Regions from separate parts of the Homo sapiens genome. Here regions 2, 3 and 4 are each linked to region 1. Evidence: promoter capture Hi-C in 16 types of primary human blood cells and fetal thymus (Javierre and others, 2016). All regions are on one chromosome and are shown on one strand. Each heading gives the region's core, a stretch centred on a gene start or on the middle of the fragment in contact. The rest is flanking DNA. Distances are from core to core; before and after follow the strand shown. Region 1 holds the start of PARP8 (poly(ADP-ribose) polymerase family member 8). Region 2 has its middle 78 kb from the start of EMB. Region 3 overlaps PARP8 (poly(ADP-ribose) polymerase family member 8). Region 4 overlaps PARP8 (poly(ADP-ribose) polymerase family member 8).

Evidence for each region. The method cuts DNA at HindIII sites, captures the fragments that hold promoters and counts their contacts. A CHiCAGO score of 5 or more calls a contact.
Region 2: a contact is called between a fragment that was not itself captured here and the fragment with the promoter of PARP8 in region 1, in 7 of 17 cell types (non-activated CD4 T cells, neutrophils, total CD4 T cells and 4 more). The highest score is 10.2, in non-activated CD4 T cells.
Region 3: a contact is called between a fragment that was not itself captured here and the fragment with the promoter of PARP8 in region 1, in 1 of 17 cell types (neutrophils). The highest score is 9.0, in neutrophils.
Region 4: a contact is called between a fragment that was not itself captured here and the fragment with the promoter of PARP8 in region 1, in 5 of 17 cell types (neutrophils, M2 macrophages, M0 macrophages and 2 more). The highest score is 10.5, in neutrophils.

The regions. Positions count from the first base shown.
Region 1 is chr5:50,661,928-50,669,111 of GRCh38, forward strand. PARP8 (poly(ADP-ribose) polymerase family member 8) reads left to right here and starts at 4,710. Exons shown (of 26, transcript NM_024615.4): 1 at 4,710-5,259; 2 at 6,144-6,198. The coding sequence starts at 5,169. RefSeq lists silencers at 4,553-4,702, 4,753-4,812, 5,505-5,834 and enhancers at 4,985-5,897, 5,333-6,532. The HindIII fragment of the contact is 4,109 bases long and covers 2,987-7,095 here.
Region 2 is chr5:50,515,971-50,522,450 of GRCh38, forward strand. No RefSeq gene overlaps it. Among named protein-coding and RNA genes, the nearest start is that of EMB, 78 kb to the left of the region's middle. The HindIII fragment of the contact is 625 bases long and covers 4,012-4,636 here.
Region 3 is chr5:50,794,738-50,801,796 of GRCh38, forward strand. It overlaps PARP8 (poly(ADP-ribose) polymerase family member 8), which reads left to right. Exons shown (of 26, transcript NM_024615.4): 12 at 116-680; 13 at 2,245-2,295; 14 at 2,401-2,496. Among named protein-coding and RNA genes, the nearest start is that of PARP8, 130 kb to the left of the region's middle. The HindIII fragment of the contact is 8,543 bases long and covers 860-7,059 here.
Region 4 is chr5:50,816,491-50,823,426 of GRCh38, forward strand. It overlaps PARP8 (poly(ADP-ribose) polymerase family member 8), which reads left to right. Exons shown (of 26, transcript NM_024615.4): 16 at 4,723-4,848; 17 at 5,845-5,910. Among named protein-coding and RNA genes, the nearest start is that of LINC02106, 150 kb to the right of the region's middle. The HindIII fragment of the contact is 7,160 bases long and covers 585-6,936 here.

The sequences.
Region 1 (7,184 bases), core at 3,460-5,959:
AGTTGTAAAACAATATATATTATGTAGTTCCATTAAATTATTATTATTATTTTTTGAGACAGAGTCACTGTGTCACCCAGGCTGGAGTGCAGTGGCCTGACCTTGGCTCACTGCAACCTTTGCTTCCTGGGTTCAAGCAATTCTTAGGTCCCAGCCTCCTGAGTAGCTGGGACTACAGGTATATGCCACCACACCTGGCTAATTTTTGTATTTTTAGTAGAAACGAGGTTTCGCCACGTTACCCAGGCTGGTCTCGCACTCCTCACCTCAAGCAATCCACCCACCTTGGCCTCCCAAAGTGCTGGGATTATAGGCATGAGCTACTGTGCCCAACCTAAATTAAAATTTATATGTATAAATCTGTCAACATATGTACATCTGTGTGAAGATATGAGAATGCAGTAATGCAAGACATTCCCACAAAGTTATTAACACTAGTTACCTCTGGGACGAAGAGTGAAATTAGGGGTCAGGATAGGTAAGAATTTTCACATTTTACTTTATGTACTAATATATGTCTTAAATCATTTGCGCTGAGAATATATTCATATAGTATTTATGTACTTTCTAAGAAAAAGAAAAAGAGGTATTCAAAAGAAGGAATTAATATGAATGAATACAAGCTAAGAATGAGTTTGTTTGCATGGCACAGTGAGGCATCTCATCTAATTATGGTCTAGAATGCTTCTAGGTAGAAAGGGGAATTAAAATTTTACAGGAAAAATGGATCTAAATTAAAGTGAAATTTGGAACTAGAAAGAAGAGTTAAGGTTTCATCCTGTAGCTTTAGTATTACCTAGGTTAGTTAAGATGCTAGAAAGGGCCATAAAACCTCAACACCACCCCTGTGCCGTCACATTTGACCTTAGTAACCTAACGGGGGGTATGGTAAGAACCAAAATGTGACAAATCCACAAAACATCACCTAAAGTTCTCCTTCAGCTTGTCAAGTTTATTCAAAGTTGACTTTGGTTTTTTACAGTAGACCTATCAGAAGAGGTCAGAAAAGTAGGATTAGTTTCCAAAGGCAGCTTTTTCTTTTCTTTTTTAAGAAACAGGGTCTCCCTCTGTCATCTCAACTAGAGTGCAGTGGTATAGTTACAGTACACTGCAGCCTCAAACTCCTGTGCTCAAGAGATCCTCCCAAGTAGCTAGCACTACAGGTATTCACCCACATGCCCAGCTAATTTTTATTTTATTTTTTGTAGAGACAGGGGTCTTGCAATATTGCCAAGGCTGGTTTTGAACTCCTGACCTCAAGCAACCCTCCCACCTCAACCTCCCAAAGTGCTGGGATTACAGGCATGAGCCACCACACCAGCCAAGCAGCTTTATAAGGAAAGAATTGCACACGTCCCTCTACTTAGAAGAAGGTAGTTGGGCCCTTAGCAGGCATTTTGAATTTTACGGATTTCTTTCCATTACAGAACCACCGCAAGCAGAAGCTATATCAATCTCATAATTAGAAAGAACTTTTCAGATCATCTTCCTTCCAGTGGCTCTCCATTTTTCTCAGATGAAATCCCACTTCCTCACCTTTGTTTAAAGGCCCTTTGTGGTGTCTTCTCACAGCAATGCCTCGGCCCCTACCTTGTCCCTCCTTCACTGATTCTGCCACAAAAGCAAACTGTCCCAGTGCTGTTTCCACATCCCAGCAAGGATGGTAGGCATTCCCATGGGCATTTACCACTGATGACACTATCATGCATATGGCAAAGAAGGCTGTTCCCCTCTTTGCTAATCCTGCCTCCTATCCTCTTCTTAATAACCATGGAATAGCAGAGGTCAGGCTTGTACTTTTCTTAAGACTGTACTAATGGCTGGGTCATTTGGGAAAGGAAGTTGAATGCAAGAAAGGGAAATATAACTGCCACTAGCAGAGGCTATTTTGAGAGTCCACAGGCTTCAGCCCTCCTCAAAATCCATCATAGGGCTTCTTGTCGGCTTCACTCCTGGCCTGCAGCCATTGGCGGGGCGGTTTACTTCCTCGTGTGGCTTCTGTACATATTTATTCCTTTAAGTTCAATTCAATTGCTGAAAGGTTTCAAGAGAGAAAAAAACTTCTTGTAGTCCATGTCTCACCTTAGATGAATTAACCCCTTTGAGCCTGTTTCCTCTTTTGTAAAATGAGAAAAATAACAGCTAGTATATACGGGTTATTGTGAATATTAAATGAGTAACTATATGTAAAGCTTTTAGAACAGTTTCTACCAGTTCTGGATAAATGTTAATGAATTCTGGATAAGTTCTGGATAAATATTAAGTTCTGGATAAATGTTAGTTATTAATACCCACATCACATTATTGAACTTAATGCCGCATGTCCATTACCTTATACTTCCGCAGTTGGGCCTTTTGGCACAGGCAAAAAATTTATATTTTTCACTAATAAATTATATCTGGTGGCTTTGAATCATTATTCTAAACCGGTGGAATTTTTTCAGTAGAGTCTATCATCCAACATGTAGATTATTATCTTCAATTTAGTTTGGGATACCACCTGAGTTCTCCCTCACTGTAAATATTGATTTTATTTATTTAACAAATTGGTGAAGGGCCTCTTATGTGCCACGTTCCTGAATGCATGTGTGTGTATGTTGTATACTCATGAGTGTTTAAGGAGAGATAGAACTGTTTCATCTCAAAGGCGCATATAGTTTTTGATAAGGGAAGTATGTTGAGCACACATAATATAAACATTTAAATATTCGGAGATGGGGCAAGGTAAAGAAAGGATCCTGGATATGGGCTGACTTACTTTGAGCAAAGTGCTCCATAAGGATCTAGCCTGGAAGATCCTTGGAAGGATCTACGTTGGTATAGTTTTTAATTAGAGAAATTTATCTTGCAGAAATACATACTAGATAGGTTTTTATTTTTTAATCTTACTCCTTCAAATGTACAAATATTTATTAAATACATCACACCTTAAGGGCATGAACAGGGTGAGGTTAGCTTTGTTTAACCAAAACAGGGCAGCCCATGAAGCTTAAAAAAAAATCAAATATAGGACAAGTCACAAGAAGGCCTATTTTAAGGAGTGAGTAGTAAACTAAGAGCTCATCCAGACAAAAAAATATTTGGTAGCTTTAAAACTATTTCACATTTATTTGTAGTAAGGGTTCTACTTGGAAGATGCAAGCCTTGTGGCTAGATAACTATAAAATAAATTCTTGTGAGTTAATAGACTTTCAGCCTTTCAGAGAAATTAAAGCACATAATGGAAGAAGAAATACTCATGATTCTCAGTGGTGATGTGGAAGAGAAGAGAGCATTTTTGGCAGCCAAAGGGCCTACACAAAGCAACATATCCAGGAAGGACAAAGGGCTTGAACCTGTCCTACCCTAAACAGGAAGCATTTCAGGAGAGGACTGAGCAGGAGATATAGACTGTTGTGACTGTGGCTTTACTACATCAAAGGCTGCAGTGGATCTCAATAATGCAGAATGTTTCCTTTTGTAACTCATAGTGAATATGACTGGACAAGGAAATTATTTTGTAATTTGTTTCCTGAAAGATAAAGGAGTTAGAACATAGGATCTTTCATTGATTCTACAGAATCTTAAGACTCCTTCAGGGATGGCAGTCATTCCTACCGTGCTGAACATCATGTTGTCACGGTCAGAATCAGAACTAAATTGATTAAGGGTCTGAAACAGTTTGGCAACTCTTGGGCACTTATGCTGATAAGAAAAGTGATGAGACAGGGTAATGAAAAGAGGCTGCAAGAAATGACCATTCGTGCATTCAGCCAACATTTAGGCCACCCTCCTGTATTCCAGGCACTGTACATGGCACTGAGTATGCAAAGCAAAAGGAGTCATGGTCTACTGGCGGGAGCCTTCTCAGTGGAGAAAAGATCAACAAGAAAAGTGCCTGCTGGAGACCTCTCCTAGGGCATAAACCAATATAGAGGTGGGGCAGCTACGTCAGCCTGGGGTGTCCTTAGGCAGAACAGAAAGTGAGAATCAGAGCAGTATCTCATTTCTGAACACCTGGATTGTAGCTTTCCCTTGACTGTCAAAGGAGGTGGTTTTAAAAATCAAGCCAAACAGGTTTCCATCTTTTAGGAAGACCCTGGAACGTGCCAGTTGATTCTGACCATTTCTCATGAACAGAAACACCTAGGAAGGGAGAACTGGTGAGTTTCAAGAGGAGGAAGTCCCTCAAAAGGGGCTGTGTTTCGTAAACGGCGCCCCAAAAGGGCTGAACTACTTCGATCTGGAGGAAAAAGACTCAGGCACTGAGGGAAGGGGAGGGTGCACGTCTGGAGTAATTTTAAGGCCTTTTCCGTGTTATGTGATGTGGCAATAAGGAAAGATTTGTTCGTTTTATTATTTTTTTAATTTTTAAAGATTTTCTTTTCCCCCCTTTTCCCCCTCCCAGCCACTCCGGTTTGGGTTTGCCACAAGACTATAATTCCTTTAGAAAGTGGAGTCGAATTCATAAAAGTGATGGGGGGAGGGGCGCGGAGAGGGAAGGCTGGGAGCCCCAGGGAGTCTTCACGACCGCTCAGCTCCCGGCGCGAGTGGAGGTCGGTGTGGGGAGAAGCGGCTCCCGCCCGGGATGGCTAATACTCTGCGAGCCCCGGCAGCCCGCGGCCGGCGGGGTGACTAGGCGGCGGGCGCGGAGGGTCTGCGGCGGGCGGGCGGCGCTGCAGCAGCCTGGGCACGGCTGCCGCCGCCCGCGGGCGCGAGTGTGCGCGGGTGTGGAAGGCCGGCGTGCGAGCCGTGAGGGGTGTGCGCGCGTGAGCCGGAGCGGGGCTCGCCCCTCGCCGGCGCCCGCCGCCCAGCCGGTGATTGCTCTCTGGCTGTCCCCGGCACCTCGGCCCCCACGGCCGTTGGTCCGGGCGGGTGAGGGAGAAAGTGAGACTTGGTGTCATCACCATCCATTGTCAGAAGGGGAGGAAATTGGAATCCAGCAGCGGCGAGCAGCAGCTGGGCGGTCACATCTGGGAATGCAAAGCCGACCTCCCCCTCCTCCTCCTCCTCCCCCTCCTCCTCCTCCTCTTCTCTCACCCAGGATCACTTCCGAAACCACTTCGCCTTCAGCCCCTGCCTCGGCCAGAGGTTTCATTTTTAACTGAATATTTACGAAAGCTGGAAGCGTGCGAGGGGGGTGGGGTGGGGTGGAAATAGCGGCTGCTTCTTTTCCAGGGATTTATTTAATGGGGATGTGTTCAAGGCAAGAGCGAATTCAGAAGGATATCGACGTCGTGATCCAGAAGTCCAGAGCTGAGAAGGACTGCCTGTTTGCAGGTGAGTTCTTGCTTTTCCAGAACCTCGGACCCAGCGCCCCCTTCCCAGTTTTCTGACCGCGACGTCTGTGGCTGGGGGTGGGGTGGAGGGTTGCACGTCCCCATTCTGGGGTTCATTTGGCAACAGCTGCTGCAACGAGCGCGGGAGCCAAAAGGGGGAGGGGGCGCCAGCCTCTCCCCTTCCCCTCCCCCACCGCCAAGTCTGAGGCAGCCACCAGCTTTGAGGGCAGAGCCCGCGTGGCCGGAGCGGGGGTCTAGGCGAAGGGGCAGTGCGTGGTATTTCCAGCCCCGCGTAGTGCCCGAAGCCTCCAAGCACGCTTCCTGGGTTCCAGCAGCGGCGGCAGAGCGGGGTTGGTTTGCGCAATGGGCTGAGCGGCGGCGGCCGGGAATGGAGCCTGCTGCGCTGCGCTGCGCTTGTAAGCTGCGCCCGGCGCCGAGGACCCCCGGGGGGCAGCGCTCGGCCCATCTCCGGCCCCTTCGGCTCCCTCTAGTCCCCTCCGACTGGCAAAGAGAAGGGATTCCTCGGATTCCCAAGGCACCCAGCGCCCCTGCCTGGGGGTCGCCTTTCGTCCATTTTGCTCCCCCGGGATTTTGCTTTCGCTACCGCGAGCCCGGCTGAGGCTGCTTCCGGCCTCCCCTATCGGGAAATTCCCGCTGTTGCCATGGCACCCGGCACTTGTTGCGGGGGGCGGCCTCCCGCTGCACCCAGTCGGGGGCGCGCCGCATCCCCTCGGACGCGGCGCAGAGGGACCTCGCCGCCCTCTAGCCCTTGCCTTCTGCCCGGCCAGGCCTCCCCTGACACCACCGAATGTGGGGCTCAAGTCCTGATCGGGGTTAAAACAAATCCACTCCAGGGGTAGCTTTTGACGGGACTTTCTGTTTCAGATTTCAGATACTCTGACTCCACCTTTACTTTTACCTACGTTGGCGGCCCCAGAAGGTATTTATGTGTATAGAGTTGCTTCATTTCCTGTTCACACTCTTGTGTTTCCTTTGTTCTTAGCGTGTTCCGTGTTCGGGTATTTTGGTTGCTTGTTTGTTTGATTATTGTGGCTTTTCTTTACCTGCTACCCAAGCCTGACGTCCCTCGGTTTTAAATAGCAGGAGGAGGGGAATCAATGTTTGATTCAGGTGTTTCGAGGACCACGCCACAGGCAATGAGCAGAACTCTTCATGTTGAAACTGTTCTGCTACAGTACTAGATTGCTCTCAGGCGATTTGGGGTTGATACAGGCACGCCGGTGCAAAACTGGAATACTGGATATGAAGTGAAATGTATAAAAGACATAAAATGTCACAAAATAGTTTGATCAGAAGTGTTGATTTTCCTGGTGAGTTGGGGCTGCGTGTTTCCATGTTTTCTGAAGGTTTACATAAACATGCAGCCTGCCAATTCTCTGTACATTTTTTTTTCAATGAGTGGTATTTCGGTTTTCACGTATAGAAATTGGAGACTTATATGTAGCTGGAGTGGATGACTTCTTTCTTTTGGGGGAAGAATGAGAGATGCACATTTCGTTAGTAAATTGTGAACAACTTGAAACAAACCCAAATCCAATTTTGAATTTAGGAAGTAGAGTTAAAATGAAAGGTAGCCATTCAAATACTATGCCTTGCTACCTTCACTTGTTGAGTTAGGATTTTCTTCCTTTTAGCCCTTTAGGGACACAGTAGTTTAAAAGAGCAGTAGCCACATATGAGAAGTACCAGATTTAGCTTAGAGGGAATTCCTTAGACCAGCCCTGCTGTTAGGACTTGACATTCAATATTGTTTGATCACATTCCAAAATATATCTTAGCTAATGGAAACATTTATAAACATATAAATTGCAAAAGAAGCTTTCTTGTGTACATACATTTTTAAAAGCTTGAAATTGATGTGAACTTTTAAAAACACGTAGGATCTGTATTACATTATACATCTCA
Region 2 (6,480 bases), core at 3,074-5,573, 150 kb before region 1:
ATTTATTGAAGAGACTGTCTTTTCCTCAATTTATATTCTTGGCACCTTTGTGAAAAATGAGTTCACTATAGGTGTGTGGATTTGTTTCTGGGTTCTCTATTCTGTTCCATTGGTGTATGTATCTGTTTTTATGCCAATACCTTGCTGTTTTGGTTACTATAGCTCTGTAGTATAATTTGAAGTCAGGTAATGTAATTCCTCCAGTTTTATTCTTTTTGCTTAGGATAGCTTTAGCTATTCTGGGTCATTTTTGATTCCATATAAATTTTAGAGTAGTTTTTTTCTATTTCTGTGAAGAATGTCATTGGTATTGTGACATGGATTGCATTGAATCTGTAGATTGCTTTGGGTAGTATGGCCATTTTAGCAATATTAATTTTTCCAACTCATGAACATAAAAAACCTTTCCATTTTTTGATGCCCCCTCTAATTTCTTTCATTAGTGTATTATAGTTTTCATTGCAGAGTTCTTTTATTTCTTTGGTTAATTCCTTGGTATTTAATTTTATGTGTGGCTATTATAAATGGGACAACTTTTTAATTTCTTTTTCAGATTGTTCATGGATGGCATGTAGAAATGCCACTGAATATTGTATGTTGACTTTGCACCCTGTAACTTTACTAAATTTATTCATAAGATTTAAGAGTTTATTAGTGGAGTCTTTTAGGTTTTTCCAGCTATAAGATCACATCATCTGCAAACAAGAATAATTTGACTTCTTCCATTCCAATTTAGATGCCCTTTATTTCTTTCTCTTGTCTGATTGCTCTAGCTAGGACTTCCAGTACCATGTTGAATAAGAGTGGTGAGAGTGGGCATCCTTAATGTGTTCCAGATCTTATAGGAAAGCCTTTCAGTTTTTCTATATTAAATATGATACTAGCTGTGGGTCTGTCACATACAGTTTTTATTATGTTGTGTACGTTCCTCTTATGTCCAGTTTTTTGATGGTTTCTTTTTTATCATGAAGGAATGTTGAACTTTATCTGATACTTTTTCAGCATCAATTGAAATGATCATATAGATTTTATTCTGTATTCTGTTGATACGATGTATCACATTGATTGACTTGCATATTTTGAATCTTCCTTGCATCTCAAGGATAAATCCCACTTGATCATGATGAATGATCTTTTTAATGTATTGTTAAATTTGGTTTGTTAGCATTTTGTTGAGGATTTTTACATGAATATTCATCAGAGATATTAGCCTGTACTTTTCTTTTTTTGATGTGTCTTTGTCTCATTTTGGTATTAGGGTAAAAATGACCTCATAGAATAAGTTTGGAAGTATTCCTTCCTCCTCTTTCTTTTCAGAAAAGTTTGACGAGGATTGGTGTTAGTTTTTCTTTAAATGTTTGGTAGAATTCAGCAGTGAAGTCATTGGGTCCTGGGATTTTCTTTACTGGGAGATATTTTATTACAGCTTTGATCTTGCTATTTGTTATTGGTCTGTTCAGGTTTTAGATTTCTTCTTGGTTCAATTTTGGTAGGTTGTATGTATCTAGGAATTTGTCTATCTCTTCTAGATTTTCCAATTTATTGGCATATAATTGTTCATAATAGCCACTAATGATCCTTTGAATTTTTGCAGATTCAGTTGTAATGTCTCTTTTTTCAATTTCTGGTTTTATTTGTTTGAATGCTCTCCCTTTTTTTCTTAGTCTAGCTAAAGGTTTGCAATTTTGTTTAACTTTATAAAAAACCAACTTTTTGTTACGTTGATCTTTTGTATTGTTTTCACCTTTATTTATTTCTGCTCAGACCTTTATTATTTCTTTTCTTCACTGGTTTTGGACTTGGTTTTCACTTGCTTTTCTAGTTCTTTAAGATACAGCATTAGATTGTTTATTTGAAGTTTTTCATCTTTTTTGATGTAGGCATTTATAGCTATAAACGTCCCTCTTAGCACTGCTTTTGCTATATCCCATAGATATTGGTATGTTGTGTTTCCATTATCATTTGTTTCAAGAAATTTTTCAATTTCCTTCTTAATTTCTTCATTGCCCCACTGGTCACTCAGGAGCATATGTTAAATTTCTGTGTTTGTATAGTTTCAGAAATTCCTCTTGTTATTAATTTCTAGTTTTATTCCATTGTGATCAGAGAAGATGCTTGATATTATTTCAATTTTTAGCATGTTTTAAGGCTTGTTTTGTGACTTAACATATGGTCTGTCCTTGAAAATAATTCATGTGCTGAGGAGAATAATGTGTATTCTGCAGCTCATGGATGAAAAGTTCTGTAACTATCTACTAGATCTATTTGGTCTATAATACAGATTAACTCTGATATTTCTTTGTTGATTATCTGTCTGGGAGATCTGTCCAATGCTGAAAGTGGGGTGTTGAAGTCTCCAGCTTTTATTATACTGGGACCTATCTCTCTCTCTCTCTCTTTAGGTTTAACAATATTTCCTTTATATATCTGGGTGCTCCAGTGTTGGGTGCATATATATTTACAATTGTTATATCATCTTGTTGAATTGACCCCTTTTTCATGATATAGTGACCTTCTTTTTCTCTTCTTATAGTTTTTGTCTATAGTTGTTGATATAAGTACAGCTACTCCTGTTCTTTTATGGTTTTCGTTGGCATGGAATATCTTTTACCATTTTTTAATTTTGAGTCTATGTGTATCTTTAAAGGTAAAGTGTGTTTCTTGTAGACAACAGATCATTGGCTATTGTCTATTGATTGTATAATTTAGTCCATTTACATTCAATTTTATTAATGATAAGTGAGGACTTACTCCTTCCATTTTGTTATTTATTTTCTGTGTCTTTTTGTGTGTGTGTGGTCTTCTCTTCCTTCTTTCTTTCCTTTCTCTCTTCCTTTAGTAAAGGTGATTTTCTCTGGTGATATGATTTAGTTTATTGCTTTTCCTTTTCTGGTATCCATTGTATATTGTTTTGTTTGAGGTTACCATGAGGCTAGCAAATACTATCTTATAAACGCTTATTTTAACCTGATAACAATTTAACACTGCTTGGATAAACAAACAAGCAAAAAGAAAACTAACAAAAACTCTCCACTTTATTTTGTTGTTTTATTTATCATATAGTACTTCCTATGTCTTTTTTTTTTTTTTTTTTTTTTTTGAGATGGAGTTTTACTTTTGTTGCCCAGGCTGGAGTGCAATGGTGCCATCACGGCTCACTGCAACCTCCACCTCCTGGGTTCAAGTGATTCTCCTGCCTCAGCCTCCTGAGTAGCTGGGATTACAGGCATGCACCACCACTAGTTTTGTATTTTTACTAGAGACAGGGTTTCCCCATGTTGGTCAGGCTGGTCTTGAACTCCTGACCTCAGGTGATCCACCCGCCTCAGCCTCCCAAAGTGCTCCTGGCTTGAGCCACCGCGCCCAGCCTGTACTGCTTATGTCTTGAAAAGATGTTGTAGTTACTATTTTTATTGGTTCATCATTTAGTCTTTCTACTTAGGATAAGAGTAGTTTACACACCACAGTTACAGTGTTATGATATTCTATGTACTTTCTATTACCAGTGAGTTTTATACATTCAAGTGATTACTTATTGGTCATTAATGTCCTTTTATTTCTGATTGAAGTAGTCCCCTTTAGCATTTCTTGCAGCACAGGTCTGGTGTTGATGAAATCCCCCAGAAATCCCTCAGCTTTTGTTTGTCTGGGAAAGTCTTTATTTCTCCTTCATGTTTGTAGGAAATTTTCTCCAGATAAGCTATTCTAGGGCAAAAGTTTTTTCCTTCAGCACTTTCAATATGTCATGCCACTCTCTCCTAGACTGAAAGGTTTCCTTGGAAAAGTCTGCTGCCAGACATACTGGAGCTCCATTGTATGTTATTTGTTTATTTTCTGTTACTGCTTTTCGGATCCTTTCTTCATCCTTGATCTTTGGGAGTATGATTATTAAATGCCTTGAAGCAATCTTCTTTGGCTTAAATCTGCTTGGTGTTCCATAACCTTCTTGTACTTGGATATTGTTATCTTTCTCTAGGTTTGGAAAGTTATCTGATATTATCCCTCTGAATAAGCTTTCTACCCCTATCTCTTTCTCTACCTCCTCTTTAAGGCCAGTAACTCTTAGATATGCCCTTTTGAGGATATTTTCTAGATCCCGTAGGTGTGCTTCATAGTTTCTTATGCTTTTATCTTTGTCTCTTCTGTCTATTTTCAAATAACTTTTCTTCAAGCCCACTGATTCTTTCTTCTGCTTGATCAGTTCTGCTATTAAAGAACTCTGATGCATTCTTCAATATACCACTTGTACTTTTCACCTCCAGAATTTCTGCTTGCTTATTTTCAATTGTTTCAATCTCTTAGTTAAATTTATCTGATAGAATTGTGAATTCTGTCTCTGTGTTAACTTGAATTTCTTTGAGTTTCCTCAACACAGCTATTTTGAATTCTCTGCTTGAAAGGTCGCATATCTCTATTTTTCCAGCATCGATCCCTCATGCCTTATTTAGTTCATTTGGTGAGGTCATGTTTTCCTGAATGGTGTTGATGCTAGTAGTTGCTCTTCGGTGTCTGAGCATTGAAGAGTTAGGTATTTATCGTAGTCTTCATTGCCTGGCCTTATTTGTAGCTGTCCTTCTTGGGAAGCCATTCCAGATATTTGAAAGAACATGGGTGTTGTGATCTAAGCTGTGACCTAAGCTTTAAGGGGGCACCCCAAGCCCATTAATGCTGTGGCTCTTGCAGAATGGTAGAAGTACCGCCTTGACAGTCTTGGACAAGATTTGGAAGAATTATCTGAATTACTAGGAAAAGTCTCTTGTTTTCCGTCCTTACTTTCTCTCAAACAGAGTCTTTCTCTCTGTTCTGAGCCACCTAAAGCTGGGCTGGCAAGACGCCCCTGTGGCTACAACCACTACGACTCCACTGGGTCAGACCTGAAGCCAGCACAGCACTGTCTACCCAAAGCCTCCTGTAGCCATTCTCTGGCAACGGCCTATGTTTGTTCAAGGCCCTGGAGCTCTACAAACTGCCAGTGTCAGAGCCAGCCAGGCTCGTGTCCTTCCCTTCAGGGTGGCAAGGTCCCCCAGATCCCAGATGGGTCCAGAGGTGCCATCTGGGAGTCAGGGACTAGATTCAAAAACCTTAGAAGTCTACCTGGTATTCTTTTATACTGTGGCTGAGCTGGCATTTAAACCCACAAGATGCAGTCCTTCCCACTCTTCTCTCCCCTTTCCAAAGGCAGAGGAGCATCACCCCCTAGTGACCACCACCCCCAGGCCAAGAGGAGTTCTGCCAGACTACCACTAATGTTACCAATGTTCCCTGAAGGCTCAAGGGCTCTTAAGTCAGCTTGTGATAAATGCTGCCTGGCCTGGGACTCACCCATCAGGGCAGTGTCCAGGAATGTCATCCAAGAGCCAAGTACTGGAATTGGGGATCTCAAGACCCCACTTGGTGCTCTACCCCTCTGTGGCTGTGCTGGTACCTAAGGTGCAAGACAAAGTCCCCTTTACTTTTCCCTCTGCTTTTCTCAAGCAGCAGTTTTGCCTCATATGCACCACAGCTGGTAATGTACTGAGTCTTACCTGAAGCCAGCAAATTTCAGAGGCTCACCCAAGGCCCTTGACGTAGTGCCTGGGTATTGCTGCTGATTATTCAGGGCCCAAGGACTCCTCTGTTAGCAAGTGATAAATATTTCCAGGGCTGGGTCCTTTCAAAGCAATGAGTTCCCTTCTGGCCTAGGGTGTGTCTAAAAATGTCAGATGGGAGCTAGGGCCTGGAACGGAGGCCTCACTACTCTGACTGGTGCCTTATCCTGCTGTGGCTGAGCTGGTATCCAAGATGCAAAACAAAGTCCTCCCCATTTATCCCTCTCCTCTCCTCAAGCAGAAGGAAGGGTCTCTTTTGAAGCCGTGAGCTGTGCAGCCTGGGGTTAGGGGAGGGGTGATGCCAGCACTCCCTTGGCTGCCCCAGCTGATGTCTCAGTATGTCACGTGCCCCCCAAGTGCACTGTCTCTGGACCTAGTTCAGCACTAGGTCTTGCCTAAGAGTTGCAGTCCTTATGGTCTAGACTGCCTTTCAAGTTTACTTAGAGACATGGAGTGTTGTAACCCTCAGTGGCAAGGTTTGAGGGAACTCAAATTTGGACCACTAAGCTCAGGAATTCCCCTCTGGCTAGGGCTGGTTTAAATGCTCCCTCCATGGGTGGGTGTCAGGTGAGTTTGGTCTGGTTTTTCTTTTTACTCTAATAGGACAGAACTGAGTTCAATGCCTCACAATTACTGTGTTCTCCCTCCCACAGCACCCAGAGATGCTCTCGACAACACACGGCTGCTGGGGTGAAGGGGCAGTGAAGGATAGGGGTGGAGGAGGGGTGGCATTGGTGATTCAAGGCTGTTTTTGCTATCTTTTCAGTGCCTTTTTCAGCAATATGAAGTTAAAACCAGGTACTGTGAGTGCTCACTTTATTTTTGGTTATTATGAAGGTGTTTTTTTCTGTGTAGATAGTTGCTAAGTTGCTGTCCTTGTAGGGGTAGGGGG
Region 3 (7,059 bases), core at 3,881-6,380, 130 kb after region 1:
TAAAATGAGGTGGTAGAATATTTATTAGCACAGTCGAGTTTGAGCATGACAAGCTTTCTTCATGGTCTGATGTACCTGTGATTTGCCCTGTAGTAATTGTTGTTCAATTTTGAAGGTCGCCAAGTTATCCTCCCCCTGGTTGTGGCAAAAGCAAATCCAAACTGAAATCTGAGCAGGACGGAATCTCCAAAACGCATAAGCTGCTGCGGAGGACTTGTTCCAGCACAGTCAAGACTGATGATGTGTGTGTCACAAAGTCACACAGGACCTTTGGCCGCTCCTTGTCCAGCGATCCCAGGGCGGAGCAGGCTATGACAGCAATTAAATCGCACAAACTTTTGAACCGTCCTTGCCCTGCAGCTGTTAAGTCAGAGGAATGCCTAACTCTAAAGTCGCATAGACTATTGACTCGATCTTGTTCTGGAGATCCACGATGTGAGCACAACACAAACTTGAAGCCCCATAAACTGTTAAGCAGGTCTTACTCTAGTAATCTCAGAATGGAAGAATTATATGGACTGAAAAATCACAAATTGCTCAGCAAGTCCTACTCCAGTGCCCCCAAGTCATCCAAAACTGAGCTTTTCAAGGAACCTAACGCAGAGGGCAGGAGGCTCTCTCTTACCTCAGGGCTTATTGGTATCCTAACACCATCTTCATCTTCATCTTCTCAGCTTGCTGTGCGTAAATATTTTCATCTTGAGTTCTTAAATGTTAGCTAAGGTGCAGTAGAATTTTTTTTTTCTTATAAGATCTGGTGGAGAAAAGAAGCAAAACTTTGTTTTAATTTACTGTTTTTTTAAAATCTTTTTGGATATTGTTTTGCATCCCATACATTTGCAACTGGCAATGAAATGTAAGCTTTGGTTCTGAAAAAAAATAAATGTAGCTATTCATTTGAAGTCCAGTTCAAATTCTTGTCATAGTAACAAATGCTACTAAAATCAGAAGGAAACGCATTGGATTCACAAAGCCCTTACTTATTAAATAAGCATATAATTTTAATGTTTCATTAAGTAGGTGTATCTAATCTCTGGTCTTCTCACATGAGTGGTGGAGGACCACATTTTTCTTGTGGTTAAATTGAGAATAATTCCCTTTCAATTATATATAAGAGCACTCTGCCCATGCATGTTTTTACCTGTGGAGAGAGGCAACATTTACCACTTTATCCCAGAGCCTCACTTAAAGTTGTTCTTAGTGTCCATTTTATACTGAAGTCACTTTATGCTGTAGCCGTTTTTGGGGGACATGGGACCAGAAGATGACTTCAATAATTTAAGTCCTTTTGATGCTATTTATCAAGAGTAACTCTTACACAAAATTTATCGCTAGCATGATTGGCATGATAGCCAAGTTCATGCTAGTGATAAATTCATAGACCTATCTTATGTATATTATTAACATATTCAAAATAGTTGATGAAAAGTTTTGTTTCCTTTTGCTAAATATATATGTGTGTATGTTGGGGGTGTGTGTTTAGCTCTAACCATTAATGTGTAAACACTCAGCAAGAGATGAAATTGAAAAAAATAAGATGTTTCAGGAAAGTAATGTTATTCTTATATAGGTTTATTTCTAAAATTAAATTATAAACTATACTGTATATTTATTATCTGAAAAGTTGAGTATGTTGACAATTTCACATGAGCATCCTAGAAGCCCATTCCTACTCAAACATACGTTTTAAGGACATAGAGCAAATAATGTAGAACAACTGCACAGTGGAATGTTTCCCATGTTAGCTTCATCCAAGAAAGATCATTTCAGACATTCTGTAAAAGAAAATGCCTTAATAACCTCTGATATGGCTAAGCATAATTCATAGTTTTCTGTTATGACACTTTCAGTAGCTGTCTAATATTTCTTTGGAGGAATAATTGTATCTGATTGTAAAATAAGACTGAAGTCTCCTAATGAAGAGGTATGAGCATTTGCTGATTAGTAACAGACAAATGAGTTTTTGTGATCATGTAAAGATGCCAGTAATTTTTGCTAGAAGATCAGCAGCTAAGAGTGCTGTTCATTTACTGTAGGCAAAAATTGCATTAGTAATGGTAGAAAGGGTATTTATAATAGAGTGAATAAAAAAGTTTTTAATTTTGATGTCATCAGTGACTCAATTCATATTTCATGTGATCTTAAATCACTTTCGTATTCACTATTGCAAAGAGTAAAAGCCTGTAATTTATACATTTTTACATTTAAAAAAATTATCATTTTTTTTTACTTTGCTTTTTATAGCCAAATGGTGCAAAATGCATTCCAGTACGAGACCGTGGCTTCCTGGTGCAGGTATGAGCCAAAACTCTATCCATTGTACAAATATTTTAGTTCTTACGGGGTTTTTAAATCATTTATGAGCTTGTCTTAATTATTTTTCCTTACTGTTTTATTCAGACAATTGAGTTTGCTGAACAGCGGATCCCTGTATTAAATGAATATTGTGTGGTTTGTGATGAGCCACATGTGTTTCAAAATGGCCCTATGCTTAGGGTAAGTTCTTGCTGATAGAATGTCCGTGTTGGTTTAGAATATAGAAATATAGAAAAGATTTGAAATATAAAAATAAGTAAATAAATGCAGTTGAAAGCAAATACTCTTTATTGAGCAAATTATTTACATATAATTTTGACAAAATAGTATTACTTCTAAAGTAGCCTGTGAAAGAGCAGTTAGTTTGATATTAGGAAAATGTTTCTTATTATATTTTTTACATATGTTTATCTAACAGCTATTTATCCATCTACACCTATATCAACGTTAAGCATCTTAAATTGTGGAATTTTGAAGAACCAGTGTTTACAAGGTTATGTGACAAGGATGCTTAGGCAGTGTCCCTTCAAAACTCCACAATTTAAGATGCTGAATATGTGAGAGGAGAGTCTTGATCCTATGCTAGTTAAAAGAGGTACACAGTAGTAGAGAGAGGATCCCAATAAAGATTTCCAAAGATGCTAGCATCCTGACACATTTGGGATATTATCAAAGGAGTATGAAAATAAGAATCAGTGTATACGTGCATTTTGGAGAGAACGATTCAATTTTAAAATGATTTTTTTTGGAATTTTTATTGCTAAAATATAACTTATAAGTCACTACTTAAAGTATACAATTCAGTGGTTTTTCATATATTCACAATATTATATAACCATTACAGCTATTTAATTCCAGAAAATGGAATTTCCATTATCCCCAAAAGAAATATTCTGTTACCAGTCACTCCCAATTTCCGCCTCCTGTCATCCCCTGGCAATTATGAAACTGTTTTCTGTTTCTATGGATTTGGTCATTCTGGATATTTGATATGAATGGAATTGTACAGTATGTGGGCTTTTGTTTCTGACTTCTTTCACTTATTATAATGTTTTCAAGGACCATCCATATAGCATATGTCAGTACTTTTATTTCTTTTTATGGCAGAATAATATACATTTTATGCATATACCACATTTGTTTATCCAGTCATCAGTCGATGGAATTGCTAGAACATATGTTAACTCTGTTTAACTTTTTGAGGAACAGCCAAACCTGTTTCAACAGTGGCTGCATAATTTTACATTTCCACTGGCAATGTATGACAGATACAGTCTCTATACATCTTCCCCACGTATTATTCTCTATTTATTATTATTTTTAATAATTATAGCCATGCTAGTATGTGTGAAGCGGTTTCTATTTTTTTTGTTTTTTTTTTTTTTGAGACAGAGTCTCGCTCTGTCACCCAGGCTGGAGTGCAGTGGCACGATCTCGGCTCACTGCAAGCTCCGCCTTCTGGGTTCATGCCATTCTCCTGCCTCAGCCTCCCTAGTAGCTGGGACTACAGGCACCCGCCACCACGCCCGGCTGATTTTTTGTATTTTTTTAGTAGAGACAGGGTTTCACTGTGTTGGCCAGGATGGTCTCGATCTCCTGACCTTGTGATTCACCAGCCTCGGCCTCCCAAAGTGTTGGAATTACAGGCGTGAACCACCGCGCCTGGCCTGAGCCACCGCACCCGGCCGAAGCAGTTTCTTATTGTGGTTTTCTTATGCACTTCCCTGATGACTGACTAAAAGATACTAAAATATTTTGATTTTCTGCTAAAAAATTTTGAGCATCTTTTCATGTGCTTATTGGCCATTTGCATGTCTTTGGAGAAATGCCTATTTAAATCCTTTTCATATTTTTAAATTGGGTTATTTGTATTCTTATTCATGAGTTGTAAGAGTTCTTTATGTATTCTGAATACTTTATCTTTACCACATATATGATTTGCAATTATTTTCTTCTATTTTGTAGTTTGTCATTTCATTTTTTAAAGGTAATCTTTGACACACACAAGTTTTTAATTTTGATGAAGTCTTATTTATCAATTTTTTCTTTTGTTACTTGTGTTTTTGATGTTGCGTCTAAAAAGTAATTGCCTAATTCAAAGTCACACAGTGCACTTATGTTTCCCTCTAAGAATTTCACGATTTATGTCTTACATTTAAGTCACAATACTTTTTGAGTTAATTTTTGTATATGGTGTTAGGTTGGGGTCCAAAGTCATTCTTTTGCATGTAGATACCCAGTTGTCTCAGCACCATTCTTTGAAAAGACTATTTTTTCTCTACTGAATGATCTTGGCACCCTCGTTGAAAATTATTTGACTATAGATGTTTTGGTTTATTTCTGGACTCTCAAGTCTTTTTCCACTGATCTGCATGTCTGTCCTTAGGCCAGTACCACATTGTCTTGATTAATGTTGCTTTATAGTAAGTTTGAAATCAAGAGGCAGAAATCCTTTGTTTGTGTTTTATAAGATTGCATTGACTGTTTGGGGTCTCTTGCGTTTCTCTATCAGTTCTGTGGTTCATTTGTCCATTTCTGCAAAAAGGCAGTTGGAATTTTGATAGGGTTGCATTGGAATTGTAAATCGGTTTGAAGACTGTTGCCATTGGCTATAGACTGGATGTGTTCCTCCCAGAATTCATACATTGAAATCCTAACTCCCATGTGATGGTGTTAGGAGATGGGTTGTTTGGAAGGCGATTAGGTCATGAGGGTGGTGCCCTCATGAACAGGAATAGTGCCTTTGTAATAGAGCACAAAGAGCTCTCTCACTCCTCTACCATGAAAGGACACAGCAAGAAGATCAATTTGTGGCCTTACTGTCACTCTGGTCTATGAATCAGCAGATGGGCCCTCATCAGGCACTGAATCTCCTGACATCTTTATCTTCCCAGCCTTCAAAACTGTGAGAAATAAATATTTGTTGTTATAAGCCACCCAGCCTATGGTATTCGATTACAGCAGCCGGAATAGACCAAGACATCATCTTAACAATATTAACCTTTCCAATTCATGTACACCAGATCATTTTATTTATTTAGGCTTTTAAAATTTTATTTCAATGCTATTTTGTAGTTTTCAGCATTCAAGTCTTACACTTCCTTGGATAAGTTTGTTTTTAAGCATTTTATTATTTTTGATGTTACTGTAAATTAAGTTGCTTTATTCCATTTTCAGAACGTTCTTTGCTATTATATAGAAATAGAAGTTATTTTTGCATGTTAATCTTTTATACTGCAACATTGCTGAACTTATTTGTTAGCTCTATTAAGTTATTTTTGGATTCTTTGTTTCTCTATATAAAATTATGTCTCTTGCAAATAGAGTTTCACTTTTTCCTTGTTAATCAGGATGCCTTTTATTACTTTTCCTTATCTAATGTGCTTGACTAGAACTTCAATACAAGACTGATTAGAAGTGGCAAGAAAAGAAATTTTTATCTTGTGATTTAGGGGGAAAATGTTCAGCCTTTCACTGTTTGTTGGGGATTTTTCATAGATGCCACTTACCAGGTTGAGAAAAATCCCCTTCTAGTCCTAGTTGTTAGGTGGTTTTATAATCATGAAAGCATTTTTGTTGGTTTTTGTTTTTCTATGTCTCTTGATATTACTATGTTTTTCTTTTATGCTATTAATATGATGTATTACACTGATTTTTTGATATGCACTAACAACTATCTGGGCCTGGAGATTTCTGTTTTAGATTTTTTTTTTTTTTTTTGAAACAGGGGTCTTACTCTGTCACTCATGTTGGAGTGCAGTGGTGCAAACATGGCTCACTGCAACCTCAACCTTCTGGGCTTAAGTGATCCTCCCACCTCAGCCTCCTGAGTAGCTGGGACTACAGGTACATGCCACCATGCCCAGCTAATTTTTAAAATTTTTTGTAGAAATGGGGTGTCACCATGTTGCCAAGGCTGGTCTTGAACTCCTGGGCTCAAGGAATCCTCCTGCCTTAGCCTCTCAAAGTGTTAGGATTACAGGTGTGAGCCATCACACCTGGTGAAAAATTTTTAATTTATGAATTCAATTTCTTTATTAGTTATAGGGCTATCCAAATTATATATATATATATTTTTGAGATGGAGTTTTGCTTTTGTTGCCCTGGCATGATCTCGGCTCACTGCAACCTCTGCCTCCCGGGTTCAAGTGATTCTCCTGCCTCAGCCTCCGAGTAGCTGGGATTACAGGCATGCACCACCACACCCGGCTAATTTTGTGTTTTTATTAGAGACGGGGTTTCTTCGTGTTGGTCAGTCTGGTCTCAAACTCCTGACCTCAGGTGATCCGCCCACCTCGGCCTTCCAAAGTGATGGGATTACAGGCGTGAGCCACCATGCTAGGCCTCAAATTATCTATTTTATTTTGGGTGAAATGTGATAGTTTGTGCTTTTAGAGGAATTGGTCCGTTTTGTCTCAGATGTCAAATTTATGTGAGTAATTTATTAGTATTCTCTTATTATCCTTTTGATGTCTGCAGAGTTTTAGTGATACTCTTTGTTTCATTCCTGATGTTGAACATTTGTATCATCTCTCTGTCAGTCCTGCTACAGGCTTGTGGATTTTAGTTACCTTTTCAAAGAACAGATTCTTCATTTCATTGAATTTCTCTATTTTCTCTTTCAAATTCATTTATTCTTTGTTACCATTATGAAAGTGGGGGTATTGAAGGCTCTGACTATTATTGTTGAATTGTTTTTACCTTCAGTTCTTTCAATATTTGATTCATGTATTTTGGGAAATC
Region 4 (6,936 bases), core at 2,915-5,414, 150 kb after region 1:
GCCTAGAGCTTAGGAATGTACACACTCCTTGGCCTAGTCATTTTAATTAACTAAAACTATTTTGCATCCACCTGATGAAATATTTAGGGCAGTATTTTTCATATAATTGAAGTATAAATGAAACAAATAATACAAAGAGTAGAATGTTGGTCTTATATGATATGAAAAAAATGATTCCATGATTAAAATAAATTTCCAAACTATAGCTTCGTATTTCCCCCACACCCAACATGCACACATTTGCATATTAACGGTTCTGAGCATCCCTATAACTAAGAAAATAGCTAGCCTATACTTAGAGGGTTACTAAAATATATCTGACTATGGAGAGCCTTTTTCTTTTCCATCCTTCTTTTTTAAATGTGAAAGTTTTTCTTGTCCCTTGGAAATAATATTGCTAAAAGGAAAAAAAAGGTACTTTAATATGTATGGTATTTATAGCTATGTAAAAATAATTAAAACCTTACAAGGGATATGTTGTATGAGTATGCTCACATGTATATTTATATAGATTTGTGTATGTGCATATATGTTAAAAATTCTTCAAGTAGTATACTTAAAATTCACACATTTTACCGTATGCAAGCTTCCCTTTAAAAAAGAAATTAAAGGCTAGTAATAGTAAATTATAAATTAGAAGGAAAAGTAGTATGCTAACAGTATGGTATGTTGATAGAATAATAGTTGGCCTTTTAAAATCATTGTTACATCATAAAATTAATGGTTTTGAATAGAAATGAAATTCAAATTATATAATGATTGATACAAAGCACAAGTATTTGATCAGCTCAATTTAGTGATGTAATTCTAAAAATCAATATCAAAAGATCAGAAAGTTTAGTAATTCTACTCCAAAGACAGCATTTTTTTCATACTTTATTTCTTAAAACAGGTTCCCCAGTATTCTGTCATAATCCTAACGATTACAGGGAAATCACTTCTTTTTCTAAACAAAAAGAAACCACCTCAGGATCTCATTGCCTCAGTTTACCCGTGCATTTTAAGTGGTGCTCTGGGGGCTGCAAAGACATTCCTCAGGACCATTGCAGGGGACTTGCCTGGAGCAACAGTGTCCTGTGGTCTAAGCAGCTGCTATTCCAGCACCCCAAATACTACTTCAACAGAATAGTTCCATTTTATTTGTTTAGATATTGGGCTCTCATCTAAGATTTTTTTTAAATTACTATTGCAGTATTGGACAATGATTGGTTTATAATTCTGAATCTGCTTCCTTTTTTAGACTACATTGTATACCCTTAGGCTCTTCCTATAGGTGCCTTTCTTAGTCACATGGACTTCCAGTTATTAAAAGACTAATGACTAAAGACTAATGACCGAATTTTTCTCATTTGCCTGAAAGGGGTGTGTGTGGGGAGGGTTGCTCTGCCAGTTGAATTGTAGGTAATGTAATGTCCTTTGGAGGCACCTGATTCTGTAAATTCACAGACCTTTTTATCTTCACTTATCAAATGTCCTAATTTTTCTTGCTTAAACCTAATATTTCTTTGCATTTCCATCCTAAGTATCTTAGTCAACTGCCAAATTGCTTCTTCATTTGTATCATTCAGTCAAAGAAGGCAGATATATGTGTGTAACTTGTTGTCCATAGCATGCATCATATATACTAAGATTCTATTTAGAATCTTTAATTTTAAATCGTTGGGAGTGGGGAAATATATCATTTAGCCCCCCCCCCCCCAAAAAAAAGAAGTCATAGTTGTGTGCTCTTTTTTATTTTTTCTTTCTTTTCTTCCCCCTCGAGAGAGCCTCTTTCTGTCACCCAGGCCAGAGTGCATTGGTGCAATCTCAGTCATTGTAACCTCTGCCTCATGGGTTCAAGCGATTCTCCTGCCTCAGCCTCTCTAGTAGCTGGGATAACAGGTCCATGCCACTGCACCCAGCTAATTTTTGTATTTTTTTGTGGAGACAGGATTTGGCCATCTTGGCCACGCTGGTCTTGAACTCCTGATCTCAAGGGATCCTCCCGCCTCAGCCTCCTGAAGTGCTTGGATTACAGGCATGAGCCACCATGCCCAGCCTCTCTTACATTTTTATTTTTATTTGTTTTTTTGGAGACAAGGTCTCACTGTGTTGTCCGGGCTGGTCTTGAACTCCTGGGCTCAAGTGATCCTCCCACCCCCGCCTCCCAAAATGCTGGGATTACAGGCCTGAGCCACCACACCCAGCCTTTTATTTTTTAAAGTGGATGTTTTAGTCCATGAGATACTTAGAAAAATTAACATATGCAAAGGAATATAAATCCAAATTGTATTATAAATGTTTTTCTTCTTAAAAAGTCTAATGCTAGCTTCTGTAACAGATAAACCATAAAATCACGGGCAGCTTAACATGGTAGCATTTTGTCATTCACACACTCCAATTAGAATGTTTGATGGGCCACTTTCTGTGTGGTGACCGGGGGGACTGGACCCCTTCGATCATGTGGCCCTGCTGTCTTTACTATATGCCATGTAGTAGAGAAACTGAGGAAGACATACCTTTCTTTGCATCAGGTCAGCCCCTTTCCACTGATGATCTGGTGAAAGCCAGTGGTTAAGACCTTATTCAGACAAAAAGGTGGAAATGTGCTTTGCTGAGCAGCTGCTTCCAGGTATTAGCGCTGTGTCCTGGAAGTGAGCAAGGAGTTGGAAACTTTGGTGCATCCCATGTAATTGAGTCACAGTAGTTACACTTTTTTTTGAAGTTAGGCTAGGACATATATTAACAGAAATATTCTACCAATTAAATTTACTACCCATTATTACATTATAATTTACTTAAATATACTAGTAAAAATATTGGTCAAAAATGCATGGACTTTTATAAAACTTCAATTGCATAGTAGGACATAATTTTTAAAGGGTTTTAGTGAGAGCATATCCATCTGTGTCATTCCCCTCCTCCCTACAAGGTCTCAGAAAAGGCTATTTTATCTTCTTTTTTTTTTTTTTTTTTTTTTTTTTTTTTGAGACGGAGTTTTGCTCTTGTCACCCAGGCTGGAGTGCAGTGGCGCAATCTTGGCTCACTGCAACCTCCAGCTCCCGGGTTCAAGCAGTACTCCTGCCTCAGCCACCCGAGTAGCTGGCGCTGCAGGCACCTGCCACCATGTCCAGCTAATTTTTGTATTTTTAGTAGAGACGGGGTTTCACCACATTGGCCAGGCTGGTCTCGAACTCCTGACCTCAGGCAATCCTCCCTCCTTGGCCTCCCAAACAAAGTGCTAGGATTACAGGCGTGAGCCACTGCGCCCAACAAGGCTATTTTATCTTACTGATTCTTCTTTGTCAGTTCTTGTTTGGGTTTTCATTAGAGACCAGATAATGCTGAAAACAATCTGTATCAGGGTTAATGTGCATCTCTAGAGTAGAAGGAATGTGAGGGTGGGAGAGGAAGACAAAAAGGAGGGTTTTATTATGTCCTTATTATGTTTATTGCTTGGAATATAACTTCTTGCATATATCTATATATATGTATGCATGTATTTACATACACACACACAAATGAAATAGTGTGTCAGGAACATTAGATGTTTCCATTCTAATGTTTTCAGAGTGTGTCTTGTGGATATGCATGTCTATGTACTCGGGGCATGTTATGTCTGGTGTCTTGAGCGTTGCTGATTATTTTAGGTCACTGGAAATTCTGGATGCTATGATTGGGTGGGTGTGTTTTGTGAGTACCCACACAACATAGTCAGCTCTGCTGTCATTAGGTCACAATACTCCTCTCTTAGAAGCAGGACAATCAAAAATTGGCCCCCTCTTACTGTGCATTTTTTAAATGCCTGTCTAAAGACTTTCTAGAAATAGCTTTCCCTATAAAGATATATATGCTTCCTTATTAAGTCACTTGTGTTCACACTGTAGATATGTCTGTTCAGGTGAACTCTGACCATTTAGGCAGTATCAGTTTTCTTTATTCAGTGGCCAGAATATATTGTTTTGGGGACTGGCAAGGGGAGCCATGCTATCAAACTGCTATATAGTACTGCCTCTTAGTAGATTGTGCAGAAGAATCATAGGATAACAGGATAACACAGGAATAAAGCCATTGTCTTTAGCCAATCAAAGGTCATTAGTGGACTTGGATAGAGGAGAATAGGAAGAGGCAAGATGTTGTCAGGCAATTAGCTATTCCTGGAGCATGCCAAAGTCTTTTCCTGCACATGGGGCTTCCTTCCCCTGGAACAGCTTCTCGCCAGATGGTCGCATGTCTCCTTCCTGACCCCGTACAGGTCTCTGTTGAGATTCACCACCTTTCTTAGCCACTCTAAAACAATGTCCCTTTCTGCATTATTCTCTAGTGCCTACTTTATTTTTTTATAACATTTAACAGTATCAGAAATTCTATTGAAGCATCTATTTGTTTAACTGATATTTTATTGTGTATCTTCTCCCCTAGACTATCAGCTGCACCAGAGCAGGGACTTGTCTGTCTTGTGCCTTGTCTTACCATAGGGTCTAGAACAATACTGGCATATAATGTGTGCCTTTGAAAAAGAGATATTAAGTTGTGAGTAATGAGAAGCAGCACATGTTTGTTATTTTGAATTGATGGTAAAGTTTGGTCAAATGTGGTCTCAAGTCTTGCATTACACATTTGAGAGATTGGTAGCAGTCCTGATCTTCCTCATTAACTTATGCTACCTTGAGAGGGAGAAACAATGGCAAAGCACTGGATAAAACCTGAAGGGTAGTAACTATCTTATGTGTATATTTCAAGGTGGTAGATCTACTAGTATCCATGTGTAGGTCTGCGTTGGAATCTCCTAGAAAAGTTGTGATTTTCGAGCCATATCCTTCTGTGGTAGATCCTAATGATCCTCAGATGTTGGCCTTCAACCCCAGGGTAAGTTGTTATCATGGCACACCAATCACAAAGTTTTCTTTAACAATAACAACAATATTGAGATTGTAGTCTCATTAGGTTTCCTCTTTCTATCTAAATCTCTATCTCATCAAGCATATCCATGAGTATTTAATTTCATCATATATTTTTGGGGATTCCGACTTACATAACCTCATTTTGATTTTAAAGATCATGGGTAAAGGGACAAGTTTTCCTTTCTTTTCTGCATTTTCACTTCAACCCTCCTTTCCTCTTTCCCTTCTTCCTCCCCAGCTATCTGAAGGTTAGTGAAAGTTTAGTTCATACTGTTAATGGACTGGCCTTTCTTAAGGAAGCAGTTTTATAAATGTTCCTGAAGATAAGGCAGAATCCTTTTGAAATTACAAAACTTTCAAATTGCATAAGAGCTGAAGTTGCCTCAGTTTCTATTACTACTCAGCTTGAAATAATTTTATAGAAACAACTGTATACAATTTTCTTGGAAGAACTTTATTTCTTCATAAATGGCAACAGCGCACATATTTAGATCTTGCTTGAAAATGAATTGTCAGCTATGTGACTGTATGCTATCATTTGTATACTGTCAACCATACTCTTGTTAACAATATTCAACTCAAAATAAAATAAAAGCGGTTGTGAGATTTGAAGTGGGTTTTTGTATTTTAGGATTCTATGTTGACTTTATTCATTATGGCTTAGTGTTTTAGTGGTGAAAGCCTGAATCAGGAGCCCCATAACTTTTTTGTGTTTCTAGATTTTTTCCGCCATGGCTTATAGAAGGATTGGCATTGTTTTCTTTGTTTCTTTTCTCTGACTGAAGTCCTGGAGCCATCTTATTATAGTCTTCCCTTTTATGTACACCAAACAGTCATTTCTTTCAAATTGACCCCAGTGGAAAATTCACATATGGAAATAATATATTTCTCTAGTGATATACAGACTTGCAAGAGCTTATAAGCAAATGCTGTTTTTTAACATCACTTTTTCATTAAACAGAAAAAGAACTATGATCGAGTAATGAAAGCACTGGATAGCATAACTTCTATCAGAGAAATGACACAAGTAAGTATGTCATCTGGTCTTGTACAGTATATTTTTAAAATGTCTGAGAGTTCTAGCTATGTAGTGAAATGTAGACTTCTCTATAATACATATCATTTAAAAATTTGTGCGGTATTAAGATGTTTTAATTAAATCACATCAGTGTACTAGCATGTAACACTGTGACTTCAGGAAAGTAAGTGGATAATTATAAGATAATTATACTCCTAATACTCTGCCCTCAAACTCGGGCAAGAGCTTGGGTACATGTAGGTATGTCGGGATATTTTAAGGCAAAGGTTAAATCTGGTACCATTTTCCTAGACTGTCAATTTTAATTGATGGTAGCAATTTCAAAACATTATTTGAGTATTAAAAACAGAAATGTTCTTTAAAATGGAACTTTTCCATAAATATTTTATATAATGCAAAATCCCAAAACCACTTTGGAAGATGCCAGGCTCCCGGAGAGTATGGGTTTATGTTTTTGGTCATTAAGGGAGGCTTTGGTGGAAATAGTTTGATGAGCAAGGATCGGGGTTTGTTAGGAAAATCTAACACATCCCTGGGCTATAGTCCAGCATTTGGAAAAGCACACACTGTTGAATTATTGAGACCTTTCCACTGCCAAAGACTTGGAGAGAGGTTTAAAACTTATCATTGTAAGTAGAAATTAATAATCTGAGATTGACAACGCACATTATGTGTGCAGCTTGCATGTAGTGGTTTCAAGGATTGCACTGCCTTAGAGACCCTTGCAGGCTTATAATGAGTATTACCCTGGGTCCTTTATTTTCTCTGGGGAGGGAATAGGGGAACCCTCCTGTCCCAGGGCCCACTAAGCTGCTATGCAGCTTTCTCCCCGCCCCCCACCAACCCCCAGAGTTATCGCTACTGCTCTGTAGGAAGACAGTACTCAAAAAGTACATTTTTGCATTTCCATTTTGATTCTTGATTCTTTCGATCATCATTTATTCATGTAGTCAAATATTCGTTCATTCACTCAATAAATAGTGTGTGTCTGGCAAAGAGTAAACAAGAGATCCT